Regions from separate parts of the Homo sapiens genome. Here all the other regions are linked to region 3. The links are contacts of gene promoters, found by promoter capture Hi-C in blood cells and fetal thymus (Javierre and others, 2016). All regions are on one chromosome and are shown on one strand. The core of a region is centred on a gene start or on the middle of the fragment in contact, and the rest is flanking DNA. Distances in the headings are between cores, read along the strand shown.

What was found. The method cuts DNA at HindIII sites, captures the fragments that hold promoters and counts their contacts. A CHiCAGO score of 5 or more calls a contact.
Region 1: a fragment that was not itself captured here is called in contact with the fragment with the promoter of ATP6V0E1 in region 3 in 5 of 17 cell types (naive CD8 T cells, naive CD4 T cells, non-activated CD4 T cells and 2 more); the score reaches 7.2 in naive CD8 T cells.
Region 2: a fragment that was not itself captured here is called in contact with the fragment with the promoter of ATP6V0E1 in region 3 in 1 of 17 cell types (naive CD4 T cells); the score reaches 5.2 in naive CD4 T cells.
Region 4: a contact is called between a fragment that was not itself captured here and the fragment with the promoter of ATP6V0E1 in region 3, in 1 of 17 cell types (naive CD8 T cells). The highest score is 5.0, in naive CD8 T cells.

What each region holds. Positions count from the first base shown.
Region 1 is chr5:173,106,338-173,109,495 of GRCh38, forward strand. CREBRF (CREB3 regulatory factor) reads left to right here. Exons shown (of 9, transcript NM_153607.3): 5 at 2,287-2,481. Among named protein-coding and RNA genes, the nearest start is that of BNIP1, 37 kb to the right of the region's middle. The HindIII fragment of the contact is 3,294 bases long and covers 200-3,158 here.
Region 2 is chr5:173,058,781-173,061,951 of GRCh38, forward strand. The region is part of intron 1 of CREBRF (CREB3 regulatory factor); the gene reads left to right. Among named protein-coding and RNA genes, the nearest start is that of CREBRF, 4.0 kb to the left of the region's middle. The HindIII fragment of the contact is 233 bases long and covers 1,156-1,388 here.
Region 3 is chr5:172,982,061-172,985,393 of GRCh38, forward strand. It overlaps ATP6V0E1 (ATPase H+ transporting V0 subunit e1), which reads left to right and starts at 1,711. Exons shown (of 4, transcript NM_003945.4): 1 at 1,711-1,904. The coding sequence starts at 1,801. RefSeq lists an enhancer at 1,526-1,820 and a silencer at 1,586-1,765. The HindIII fragment of the contact is 8,334 bases long and covers 1-3,333 here.
Region 4 is chr5:173,077,795-173,080,994 of GRCh38, forward strand. It overlaps CREBRF (CREB3 regulatory factor), which reads left to right. Exons shown (of 9, transcript NM_153607.3): 2 at 2,791-2,990. The coding sequence starts at 2,982. Among named protein-coding and RNA genes, the nearest start is that of CREBRF, 23 kb to the left of the region's middle. The HindIII fragment of the contact is 8,132 bases long and covers 1-3,200 here.

The sequences.
Region 1 (3,158 bases), core at 597-3,096, 120 kb after region 3:
GAGAATGGTGTGAACCTGGGAGGCGGAGCTTGCAGTGAGCCAAGATCGTGCCACTGCACTCCAGCCTGGGCGACGGAGCAAGACTCCATCTCAAAAAAAAAAGAAGAGCCTAAGGGTCACCATCACACTGCTTGCTGTTTTGTTTTAAACTACCACGTGTACACTAATAAAATGCTGTTAATACCAGCAGTGCTACAAAAGCTTGCCTTAACTGTTGCTCAGAAATCATTCTGCTTTCCAAATTGATTCTTTTTTTTAAAGTCATGTTTATTGTGGTATAATTTTCACACAGTAAAATTCACCCCTCTTACAGTGTACACTTCTATGAGTTTTGACAAATCATGTAATCACCACTAATACCAAATAGTTTGATCACCCCCGAAAATTCCCTCTTCTATTTTATTTTATTTTATTTTATTTTATTTTATTGAGATGGAGTCTTGCTCTTGTTGTCCAGGCTGTGGTGCAATGGCACGCTCTTGGCTCACTGCAACCTCTGCCTCCTGGGTTCAAGCGATTCTCCTGCCTCAGCTTCCTGAGTAGCGGGGATTACAGGCACCCACCACCATGCCCGGCTAATTTTTGTATTTTTAGTAGAGATGAGGTTTCGCCATGTGGGCCAGGCTGGTCTCGAACTCCTGATCTCAGGTGATCCGCCCACCTTGGCCTCCCAAAGTCCTGGGATTACAGGCATGAGCCACCGCACCCGGCCCCTTATATTCTTTTATAGTCATCCCTTTTCTCCACTGCCAATCCCTGGCAACCACTGTCCATATAGGTTGCTTTTTCCAGAATAGTATATAAATGGAAGCATGCTCCTGATTCATTCTTTGTCTGGAGAAAACTTAGTTCCTCAAAGCAAACATATCATCACCTTCTTATGTTTTCAGGAAGGAAAAATTACCTTTTTACTTATGGCCAATGCTGCCCAAGTTTTCCTGGTTACCTTAGGTTTGGATTGTGTACATTCTTCGCACAGCCCATTCCGTCTTGTTCATGTACCTAGCGTTAATGATCTGGAGTACATCAGAGGTGGCCATTCTCTGAGGGTATTTTAGATTTATAGGTCATTCAATACTGGGTCTGACCAACAGTTCTAGCAACTCAGAATTAAGTATTTTCTGAAACTTCCTATTAGGAAAATACCCCCTTCTTAAACAGTGACGTTAATACAAATAGCTTTCAATAAAATATTAACTGGAATAGGCATATAAGTTTTTTATCTGATAGCCAGTGTGAGAACCGTCATCTTTTATACTTTTCCAAAAGAAGTGGTGTGACAGGTAGGAAGAAAACTAATGCTGCCACATAGAATTCTGCCTAGTAGAACACCATCATAGAAGTGTATACAGCTGGGCTAGGCATGGTGGCTCATGCCTGTAATCCCAGCACTTTCAGAGGCTGAGGCCAGAGGACTGCTTGTGAACCCAGGAGTTTGAGACCAGCCTGGCAACATAGTGAGACCTCTGTCTCTACAAAATTTTTTTTTTTTTTTTTTTTTTTTTGGAGACAGAGTGAGCGTCTCATTCTGTTGCCCAGGCTGGAGTGCTGCGGCACAATCTCGGCTCACTGCAACATCCGCCTCCTGAGTTCAAGTGATTCTCATGTCTGTGCCTCCCGAGTAGCTGGGATTGCAGGCGTGCACCACCACGCCCTGGCTAATTTTTGTGTTTTTTAGTAGAGACGATTTTGCCATGTTGGCCAGGTTGGTCTCAAACTCCTGACCTCAAGTGATCTACCTATCTCAGCCTCCCAAAGTGCTGGGATTACAGGTGTGAGCCACCACGCCTGGCCTACAAAAAATTTTTTAAAAATTAAAATAAAAGAAAAATATTTAAAAAAAAAGAAGTATACATAGCTTTCTGTCTGAGATGTTTCAGATACAAATATTAGAAGGAAGACATTTAAAAATCATAGTTTATGTATCTAAGTACCATTATCTGATGGTACTTTTGATATTCCTATAGCTGTCCTGTAATTGTTCTCTTAATCCTGTTTGAAGATAATAAAAATAGTATCGTATACTAACTTATAAAAACTAAAAAGAAACCCAAGGAAGATGAACAGTGTAGTTATCTATGTTTATTAATCTCGGAATGTTTTATGAGTTAGAGATTTACATATTAAAAGTTCTCTTATAGACCTGGTTTATTATCTTTGACATGCCAATGATGTTTTCAGATGCAAGGAAATATACCAAGTTACAAATAGAAGGGGTCTTTTCATTTGTTCTGATTGATTTATTGAAATTTATGGAGCTTAAAAATTGCGGGACCTTTTTTTAAGGCTATGAAAATGATTCTGTAGAAGACCTGAAGGAGGTGACTTCAATATCTTCACGGAAGAGAGGTAAAAGAAGATACTTCTGGGAGTATAGTGAACAACTTACACCATCACAGCAAGAGAGGATGCTGAGACCATCTGAGTGGAACCGAGATACTTTGCCAAGTAATATGTATCAGAAAAATGGCTTACATCATGGTAAGAGGGGATTGCAGTCAGATATTTAGTGTCACTTTAATCAAGTTGAGCTACTAATCCATAATGTTTACTCCGTGTACCTAGGCATTCAGCCCTTCCTAGCAAACTGGAGATGGGGACTGTAGAGCTGCTACATTTGTGTGACTACTCTTCGTCACTCACAAATAGCTTTTACCAGTGTTAAGAGTCCTCACCTAAGTGGAGAGGAAGGACTGTGTAAACATTATTTCATTTCTAGTCCCTTCTTAATCTACCTACCCCATTCAGGAAATGACTAGGAGGCTGCTGGTTTCTGACCTGTCACAGTTGGTATAACCAGAAGGGTTGAGGAGAAAGTGAACGGGCTCTCTTGCATTCTTGTGTAATCCCCAGATGTAAATGGGGGGACTGGAATTCAAACGGTAATGGGGATAAAAGGGCAAGGAAAGAAAAGAAAGGGAGGATGGTTATGGAGAAAAGGAGTTGTAGAGAAGAGTTGAATACCTGTAGCAGGAATCAGAAGTTTATAATCTTAGGTAGGTCAGGCCGTGTGCTGCAGCTCATGGTTGTAATCCTAGCACTTTGGGAGGATCACTTGAGTCCAGGAGTTAGAGTCTGCAGTGAATTGTGATTATGCTACTGCACTCCATCCTGGGCGATAGAGTGAGATCCTGTCTCTAAAAAAATTTTAAAAATGA
Region 2 (3,171 bases), core at 22-2,521, 76 kb after region 3:
AGCCTCTTTTTTTTTTTTTTTTTTTTTTTTTTTAAGACGGAGTCTCCGTCTGTCGCCCAGGCTGGAGTGCAATGGCACGATCTCGGCTCACTGCAACCTCCGCCTGCCGGGTTCTAGCAATTCTCCTGCCTCAGCCTCCCGAGTAGCTGCGACTACAGGCGCGTGCCACCATGCCTGGCTAATTTTTTGTGTTTTTAATAGAGACGGGGTTTCACCACGTGCTGGTCAGGCTGGTCTCGAACTTCTGGCTTTAGGTGATCCACCCACCTCAGCTTCCAAAGTTCTGGGATTACAGGTGTGAGCTACTGCGCCCGGCCTGATTCATCAATTTTTGTAGTACTTTGGCATGACTGACTCAGTTCTGTTAATAATGATACATAAAAACGTAATCCCTGATTATTTGATAAACTTGAATTCTTACGTATAACTTTTGCAGTAAATAAGGGTATTAGCTTATTTATCAGTTCTTCTTTTTCTTTTTTTTCTTTTTTTTTTTTTTTTGAGACGGAGTTTCGCCCTTGTCGCCCAGGCTGGAGTGCAGTGGGAAGATCTCGGCTCACTGCAATCTCCGCCTCCCGGGTTCAAGCAATTCTCCTGCCTGAGCCTCCTGAGTAGCTGGGATTACAGGCGCCCACCACCACGCCCGGCTAATTTTGTATTTTTAGTAGAGACGGGGTTTCACCATGTTGGCCAGACTGGTCTTGAACTCCTGACCTAAGGTGATCTGCCTGCCTTGGCCTCCCAAAGTGCTGGGATTACAGGCGTGAGCCACCGCGCCTGGCCTATCAATTCTTATTTTATCAGGTGGCATTGTGTTGCTTTTGGAACCCTAGCCCTTACAATGCCCTAATTAGTTTAACAGAGAAGTATAGTGAAAATAAAAATAAACACTTTTCATTGATACTTAGAATATTCCAGGCAGTTTTCACTGTTGCATCGGTTGATAAAGTCAATCAGCATTGCTTATATAATGCTCTCTTATTCTAAGAATGGCAAATAGATGCAATAGAACTTATTTGGGTATAATTCCTTCATATGACTGGTATATCAGCTTTGGGTTTTTTATATTCATAAGCATAGAAGAGGCTAAATAGCTCCCGAAGAGAGTCTGGATGCTCCATTTACCATCATTCTCTGTCATGGCAGGTGAAAGCAAGCTTTTATATAGACAATGTTCTACTTAGTTTACAGGGTGTCTACTTAGTTTACAGGGTGGATGTGTGTGGGTTCTGGGATACTAGTGTAAGAAGTAAAGGAATAACTAGCATGGTTCCTGGTGGTGGTTAAATACAAGTGACAGTGAAGTACAGTAAGTTTGTGTGTTGATTCTGTTAATATAACTCAGTTTTTAAAAGATAAAGAGAACTGAAATCACTGTTTGCTTTTAAAGCTTAATTTTCAGTCAAGATCGGCATCTATATATTTATTTAAAAAATACATATATATATATATGTTTTTTTTTTTTTTTGAGACGGAGTCTAACTGCGTTGCCCAGGTTGGAGTCCGGTGGCGTGATCCTGGCGCACTGCAACCTCCGTTTCCTGGGTTCAAGCGATTATCCTGCCCCAGCCTCCCGAGTAGCTAGGATTACAGGCGTGCACCGCTATGCTCAGCTAATTTTTGTATTTTCAGTAGAGACAAGGTTTCACCAAGTTGGCCAGGCTGGTCTTGAACTCCTAATCTTAAATGATCCGCCCGCATTGGCCTCCCAAAGAGCTGGGATTACAGGTATGAGCCACCGTGCCCCCTCTAGTTATGTGATTTTGAAATGAATTAGCAGTCGCTTGTTTCCAAGTAGGGTTGAACTTGGATTTTTTTGAGGAACAATTCACTGACACTTTCACCATATTCAGTAGCTCATTTCGGGATAGGTAAACTCTTAGACGAGACATAAATTTGTCAGATAATTGGTTCTGATTATTTTAAGACAAGGGTTGACAGACTTTTTTTTTTTTTTTGGAACAGGATCAAATAGTTAATATTTAGGCTTTTTCAGCCTTCCAGTCTCTGCCACAACTACTCAACTTTGAATCTGTAGCATGGAAACAGCTGTAGAAAATATGTTCTACATATTTTTGGGCTCTATTCCAATAAAACTTTATTTACAAGGTCAGGCTGTGCCTCTATTTGTGCTTCCACGGCTATAGTTTGTCAGCCCCTGTTGTAAGACATCAGTCATTGAGGTTTTTTGTTTGTTCGTTTTTTGAGACAGAGTCTAGTTCTGTCCCCCCTGCTGGAGTGCAGTGGCACGATCTCGGCTCACTGCAACCTCCGCCTCCCGGGTTTAAGCGATTCTCCTGCCTCAGCCTTCTGAGTAGCTGGGATTACAGGCGCCTGCCACCGTGCCCAGCCAAGTTTTGTATTTTTAGTAGAGACGGGGTTTCACTGTGTTGGCCAGGCTGGTCTCAATCTCCTGACCTCCTGATCTGCCCGCCTCAGCCTCCCAACGTGCTGGGATTACAGGCGTGAACCACCACATCTGGCCCAGTCACTGAGTTTTAAGTACTTAGATGTTAAGGTATTTCAGAATATACAAATAGACACTTTAGGTACATTTGAGCATTTGCAGATTGTACAGTCTCCTGCCTTGAAGAGAATTTTTAGTACAAGAGCATATGGCAACATTGTATTTTGTATTTTTCCTTCGTTTACATATAAATGTTTTCTTGAAAAGCTGTTTAAAGCAAATATTGGTATAAATCCTGTTGATTTTAGAGATGCAGTCTGATTGAAAAAACTTTGGCCCTAAGATATATTCAGGATATGGTCCTCTTGAAGTTTCAAAGCACATTTAGCATATAATCCTTAACAAAGCTGTATAGCTGTTTCAAGAGATGATAGTCACGTGAATAGTCAACACATGTAGTTCTTATATTCAAATATGCAGTTAATTTAGAAGTTAAGACATTGAGTGCTCATTGCCTGAGATGCTTGAAGAATTAAAGAGAGTAGGATGCTTTTTCCAGGCCCAAAAAGATACAGGTTACCTCCTCTCTTTTTCCAGGGAAAATGTCAAGTCGTGCTAAGTGCCTAGTGAAGCAGAGATGCCGTAATCTAAAAATATAACTGGGAAATACTAAATTTTTTTGATAACTTTTGCTTTATTTTTAATGTAATATTTCACCATTTTTGTTGACTTGAACTGGATTTCAAGTGGAAGCGTAAAAGTTT
Region 3 (3,333 bases), core at 461-2,960:
ACATATGTGAAAATTCTCAGCAAGCGTTCTAAGCCCTGTTTATCAGCTCAGCACGGTGGCTTATGCCAGTAATCCCGGCACTTTGGGAGGCTGAGGTGGAGGATCCCTTCAGGCCAGGAGTTTAAGACCCACCGGGGCAACATAGCGAGGCTCTGTCTCTACAAAACATTTTAAAAATTAGCTGGTGTGGTGGTGCACACCTGTAGTCCCAGCTCCTCAGGAGGCTGAGGCAGAAGGATGGCTTGAGCCCGGGAGTTCCAGGCAGCAGTGAGCTATGGAGCACCACTGCACTCCAGCCTGGGTGACAGAGCAAGGCCCTGTCTCAAAAAACAAACAAACAAACAAAACTGTTTTACCTTTCTTTTTCTTTCTTTCTTTTTTTTTTTTTTTTTGAGGCAGAGTTTCACTCTGTCGCCAAGGCTGGAGTGCAGTGGTGCGATCTCAGCTCATTATAACCTCTGCCTCCCAGGGATTCAAGCGGTTCTTGTTCCTCAGCCTCCTGAGTGGCTGGGACTACAGGTGCATACCTGGCCAATTTTTGTATTTTTAGTAGAGATGGGATTTCACCATGTTGCCCAGGCTAGTCTTGAACTACTGACCTCAGGTGATCTGCCCGCCTCGGCCTCCCAAAGTGCTGGGATTACAGGTGTGAGCCACCATGCCTGGCCTGTTTTTCTTCTTACCATTCTGGCTAATTTCTACTTGTCTTTCAAGGCTCAGCAAGGACGAGTTGGGTAGAAAGCCTTGCAGGGTCGTCCACTTACTTTCACACTGCATTGAGTCGCCTGTTTGCAAGGTCATCTGCTCCCCAGAATGTGAACTCCCTCAGGGGTGCCTGATTGACTTCTGTAACTCCAGAGCCTGGCACAGCACACAAGATAAATAGTGGTGCGCTAGTTAAGAGCTCTGGCCTTGAAAATCAGATAATCAGGGGTTGAATCCTGGCCCTGCCACTTACTATGTGACTTTGGGCAAGATCCTTATCCTCTTCCCTGGGCCTCAGTTTCTTCAACTGCAAAGTGGGGATAATAATTACAATTACCTCATAGGCTGAAGTGAGGAGTTCAACACGGGCTCATGCACTTTTTTTTTTTTCTTTTGAGACAGAGTGTTGTTCTGTTGCCCAGGCTGGAGTGCAGTGGCGCAATCTCGGCTCACTGCAACCTCCACCTCCCGAGTTCAATTGATTCTCCTGCCTCAGCCTCCTGAGTAGCTGGGACCACAGGCGCGCACCACCACACCCAGCTAATTTTTGTATTTTTAGTAGAGACAGGGTTACACCATGTTGGCCAGGCTGGTCTCGAACTCCTGACCTCAAGTGATCCGCCTGCCTCAGCCTGCCAAAGTGCTGGGATTACAGGCGTGAGCCACCGCACCCGGCCTGGGGCTCATGAACTTAAAGATCATGGCCCAGTGCCAGGCACACGGGAATTCAGAATAGTAAGGGACAACTATTGTTAAGTTCTCTATGTCTGTTGCATAAGTAGATGAGGCTGTAGATAACTACACTCTTTGTCTAAAAGGGCCAAGTTCTCATCAGAACACTTTGCTGAGCCCCGGGTGACCGAATCCCTAGCTCTGGGGTGAGCGACATGCCTCCAAGGAGCTGCAGCCAGGAGACAGCCAGGCGAAGGCGGGGCTCTGCCTCTGGGCTCCCCGAGGGGCGGAGGCCGGCGCGCGGGTCACGTGGGGGCGCGGGAGGCGGGGCTTGCACACGCTGGTCACGCGGTCAGCTATTGACACTTCCTGGTGGGATCCGAGTGAGGCGACGGGGTAGGGGTTGGCGCTCAGGCGGCGACCATGGCGTATCACGGCCTCACTGTGCCTCTCATTGTGATGAGCGTGTTCTGGGGCTTCGTCGGCTTCTTGGTGCCTTGGTTCATCCCTAAGGGTCCTAACCGGGGGTAAGTGCGTGAGGCCCGCCTTGGGAGGAACGGGCGGTGAGGAGCTAGCAGGCCGGGGCGGGGAAAGGCACGACCCCCACACGGGTCAGAGAACGTTGCATGGGCGCCCCCCGCGCTGCAGAGTCAGGCCCCCGACCCGGCGGAACTCCTTGTGTTCCTTTTCGCAGCAGCTTCAGTGTCCTCCGGCCTGAGCGAGTGGAGGGTGACCTTTGGTGGACCCCCCTTGGAAACGAGTTTCAGGGGAATTTTTTCTCATCATAGTCCTGTGTGGGGAGGTGCAGTCGGAAATGAGCAGGCCGAATCTGGGAGAAACTGGGGTTTGTCCCTAGTCGACTGTCCCCCTTTAGCCCTGCCTTCCACCCACATGAGGCCTCGTTTGCCTGAACTTAAGGATCAAATAAATAAAACAGAAATTGGCTTCTCTGCCTCCCATGCTGTCGCGGTTGCGTACAGAACAAGCTCCTTCGACAACATTGAGCCCAGGCCTTGCATCTAGTGGGCGCCAGGAGGCGGTTGGGGCCTGATCTAAAGCGAGATTAATTACCAAAGAGCAGGAGGTATTGTTGAGAAACCCCTGCGTCATGCCTTTTGGAGGGCGCTCCGGCTCTTGTATGTGAGTGTAAGAAGTGCTTAGAATGATTGGCTAAGAAAGATTTTGTTTTTCCAGACTTCTTTGTTGGTTAGAGCTTTGTCTCTTTTGGAATTAAACTTTTTAACTGTAGTATAAAATAGAGGCTTAATCTTCAAAGGAGCCTTGGAACACCCTCTTCCTGGTTCCTCTTTTGCTTCTCAGTCATTTTTTTCTCAGTTCAAGATGATGAGAGGTGAAACTTCGACTGAAGTCAGTTTGTCAGAAACACCATCTCTTGCTTTATTCTTGAACCTAATTGGTGGCTTCATAGTGCCTGGTTTTCATAGTACCTTGTATGCACAGGAGGCACCCAATAAATACCTGTTGAGTGAATAGTTCTATTGTCTTTATTAAAAGAAAAAGATTTTTGGCCAGGTGCCGTGGCTCACGCCTGTAATCCCAGCACTTTGGGAGGCCAAGGCGGGCGGATCACGAGGTCAGGAGATCGAGACCATCCTGGCTAACACGGTGAAACCCGTCTCTACTAAAAACACAAAAAATTAGCCGGGCGTGGTGGCGGGCGCCTGTAATCCCAGCTACTCGGGAGGCTGAGGCAGGAGAATGGCGTGAACCCAGGAGGCAGAGCTTGCAGTGAGCCGAGATCGCGCCACTGCACTCCAGCCTGGGCGACAGAGCGAGACTCCGTCTCAAAAAAAAAAAAAAAAAAGAAAGAAAAAGATTTTTACTACTTCCCTAATATTTTGTGACCTGAACCCCTTTTGCTCCCTGGGATACATTTGCTTTATTAGTCTAAAATTATTTTTTTTTAAAAGATACATGGTAGATGAATTTTTATCA
Region 4 (3,200 bases), core at 697-3,196, 96 kb after region 3:
TAAGCACCTCATAAAGCCTAATCATATAATATTTGTCCTTTTGTGTCTATTTTACTTACCATAATGTTTTTAAGGTTCATTCTTGTTGTAGTGTGTATCAGGATTTCATTCATTTTCATGGCTGAATAATATTCTGTTGTATTTGCCATATTTTGTTGATCCATTCATCTGTTTGTGGACACTTGAGTTGTGTTTACCTTTTGGCTTTTGTGCATAATGCTGCCATGAACATAAGTGTAGACATATCTGTTTGAGGCCCTGCTTTTAACTCTTTTAGGTATATACCTAGGAGTGGAATTGCTAGATCATATGGTAATTGGATTTCGCTTTTTGAAGAAATACCAAACCGTTTCCCACACCAGCTGCAATCCTACCAGCAAATGCACAAGGGCTCTGATTTCTCTATATCCTTGCCAATATTTGTTATTTTCCACTTTTTGGATAATACTCATCTTAATTGGTGTGTCAAAAATGTTTTAACATTTACTGTGATGAATGTTAGATGATTCGGAAGAGCTACTTACTGTTGTGAGGAACCAGTTTCCTTAAGTTACTAAAAGGGGGCTTAAGCCAGTTCCATATAAAACAAGAGCTGCAGGGATTCTGGCCATCATATACAACATCTCCTTATTCATAAAATACTCTCATTTACAAAAAGGTTTATGTATTTATTATTATTAATGTATAATAAATATATATTTATTATTCGTAAAATACTCTCATTTACAAAGAGGTTTATATATTTCTTGATGTGAAGTTTTTCTTTTTCTTTTTTTTTTTTTGAGACGGGGTCTTGCTCTGTGGCCCAGGCTGGAGAGCAGTGGTGCGATCTCGGCTCACTGCAAACTCTGCCTCCCGGGTTCACACCATTCTCCTGCCTCAGCCTCCCAAAGTGCTGGTGAGTATTTTTAGTAGAGATGGAGTTTTGCCATGTTGGCCAGGCTGGTCTTGAACTCCTGACCTCAAGTGATCCACCTGCCTTAGCCTCCCAAAGTGCTGGGGTTACAGGTGTGAGCCACTGCGCCCAGCCGACCCTATTGCTAGTAAGGTTAATTTTTCAGATTTTAAAGGGTATCAAACTTTTCTCCCAAATCCAGGTTTTATGCCAAGATTATACTGATCCACTTTATTGAACACATGACTTGAATTAGATGCCTTTAGGGAGGCCTAAGTCATAGGTCTAGAAAAAGTGACTGACCTTCTTTCTCATAGGAATCAGGGGAGAGAATTAGGGCAATGATTATGACTACATACCAGTTGTAGGACGACGGCATGAGGTCACATAAGGAGAGACTGCACAAGAACAGGCCTTTGGCAGGAACAGGGAGCAATCTAGTTATACTGTAGCACTGAATTGAAAAGCATAGTTAACTGTTTCTAGGTGGGCACTTGACATTGTTTCCTAGGTTAGACCAGTGAGCTGGGAACGACAGCCCACTGGAGGGGAGAGTGCAGCAAAGATCCAGAAAATGTGAATTATAGTCAGTTTATTAATCTAATTAAGTAGAACAATGATTGAGTCCCTGGGTGTGGTGTTGCTTGCCTGTAATCTCAGCTACTTGGGAGGCTGAGGCAGGAGAATCACTGGAACCCAGGAGGTTGAGGTTGCAGTGAGCCAAGATTGGGCCACTGCATTCCAGCCTGGGTGACAGAGTGAGACTCTGTCTTTTTTAAAAAAAAAAAAAAAAAAGGAAATTAATACAATGTACCACTGTAACCCTCTAGCCCAGACAATGTGCTGACTTCAGAAGGCAAATTCAGTGTAAATTGACTGTTTACCAATATAAGAAGTGACACTGCTTCTGGACTGAATTAGATCAAGGATAGGACAGTGGTTCTCAAACTTTAGAGAGGACCACAATCACCTGGAGGGCGTATTAAAAAACATTGCTGGTACCCACTCCTAGAGGTTCTGTTTTGATTCTTCATTTTAAACAAATTTTTAGGTTGTTGCTGATGTAGTACTGCTGATCCTTGGATCATACTTTGAGACCCACTGATCTTGGACAGGAAAATGAAGCGAGTATAACTGTTTAGTTCCTCCTGGTTAAAGTCTTCATGGAGAAGGGAAAAAACACTAACATTTAAGTCTGTACCCTGTCAAAATCCTGTGCCAGATGATTTGTAGTCATTGTTTTACTTAACCCTTGAAACCACTCTGCAAAGCAGTCCTCAGGCCCGTTTTCCCTCAAACATACACCTGTTAAAAACTTGCTGGAATGATTCTTTCTTCAATGAGAGCTTATACTTATAACTGAAAGAATAATGTTGGCATATACCATTACAAATGTGATTTTATTTAATGTAGAGGATATGTTAAGTTCCATTGCTGACTATTATGTATTCATTACTCTTCTGTTGACTTATGAGAGAGATAAAATGTAGATTAATTTAGCAGTAATGATTATACAATAGATGGAATTAAATTTTGAGATATGTTTTCTCATAAAGAACATAAAATGAATGAGAGCTTGACTTTAAAAATCAATATATTACATCTTTCAGATCACAGAAAAAATAAGCCTATGTTAATTTTGTGTTTTTTTTTTTTAATGTTGCCAATTGGTTATTGACCAGCTCTATTTTAGAAAAATATAAGAGGAGGAATGGTAAATTTCAGAATAGTAAGTATTAAGATATGACCAAATCCTTGATAACTCAACCATAAGACTTACTCATTTAAAGTACAGTATTCTCTGCTAATATTATTTTTCAAAAGTCAACTTTTTTTTTGAAACATCAACTTGTTTTTCCTGGAATTCAGTGAAGTTACTTTGTGTTGTTTGACAGACAGCATCGCACAGAATTATTTTAAAAAAAAGCAGTGATCCAAGCAATTGAATTGGAAGCACTCTGGGGAAACCTGCTGTTTATTGTGGAAATCATCTTCGATCTTGGAATTGAAAGTAAAGCTGGAAAGGAATTTACAAACAAGAAAAAAAAGAAGTTTGGAATCGGATTCACAGGATCTGGGCTTGGAAATGCCTCAGGTAAATCATACAGAGTAGGTGCAAAGTTTTTTATTTTCCCACTACAGAAAGTCAATACCTTTGACTCTTAAATGAATCTTAACACAACTTTGCATACTACCTTTTTGTGATATCTCATTTCTGATCTCAGCTAGTTTTGAGTACATGTTCTTCCTTCCATTGGCTTCTATTTCTTACTTTGCTATCACTTGAAGTTTAATGAGTTCTACA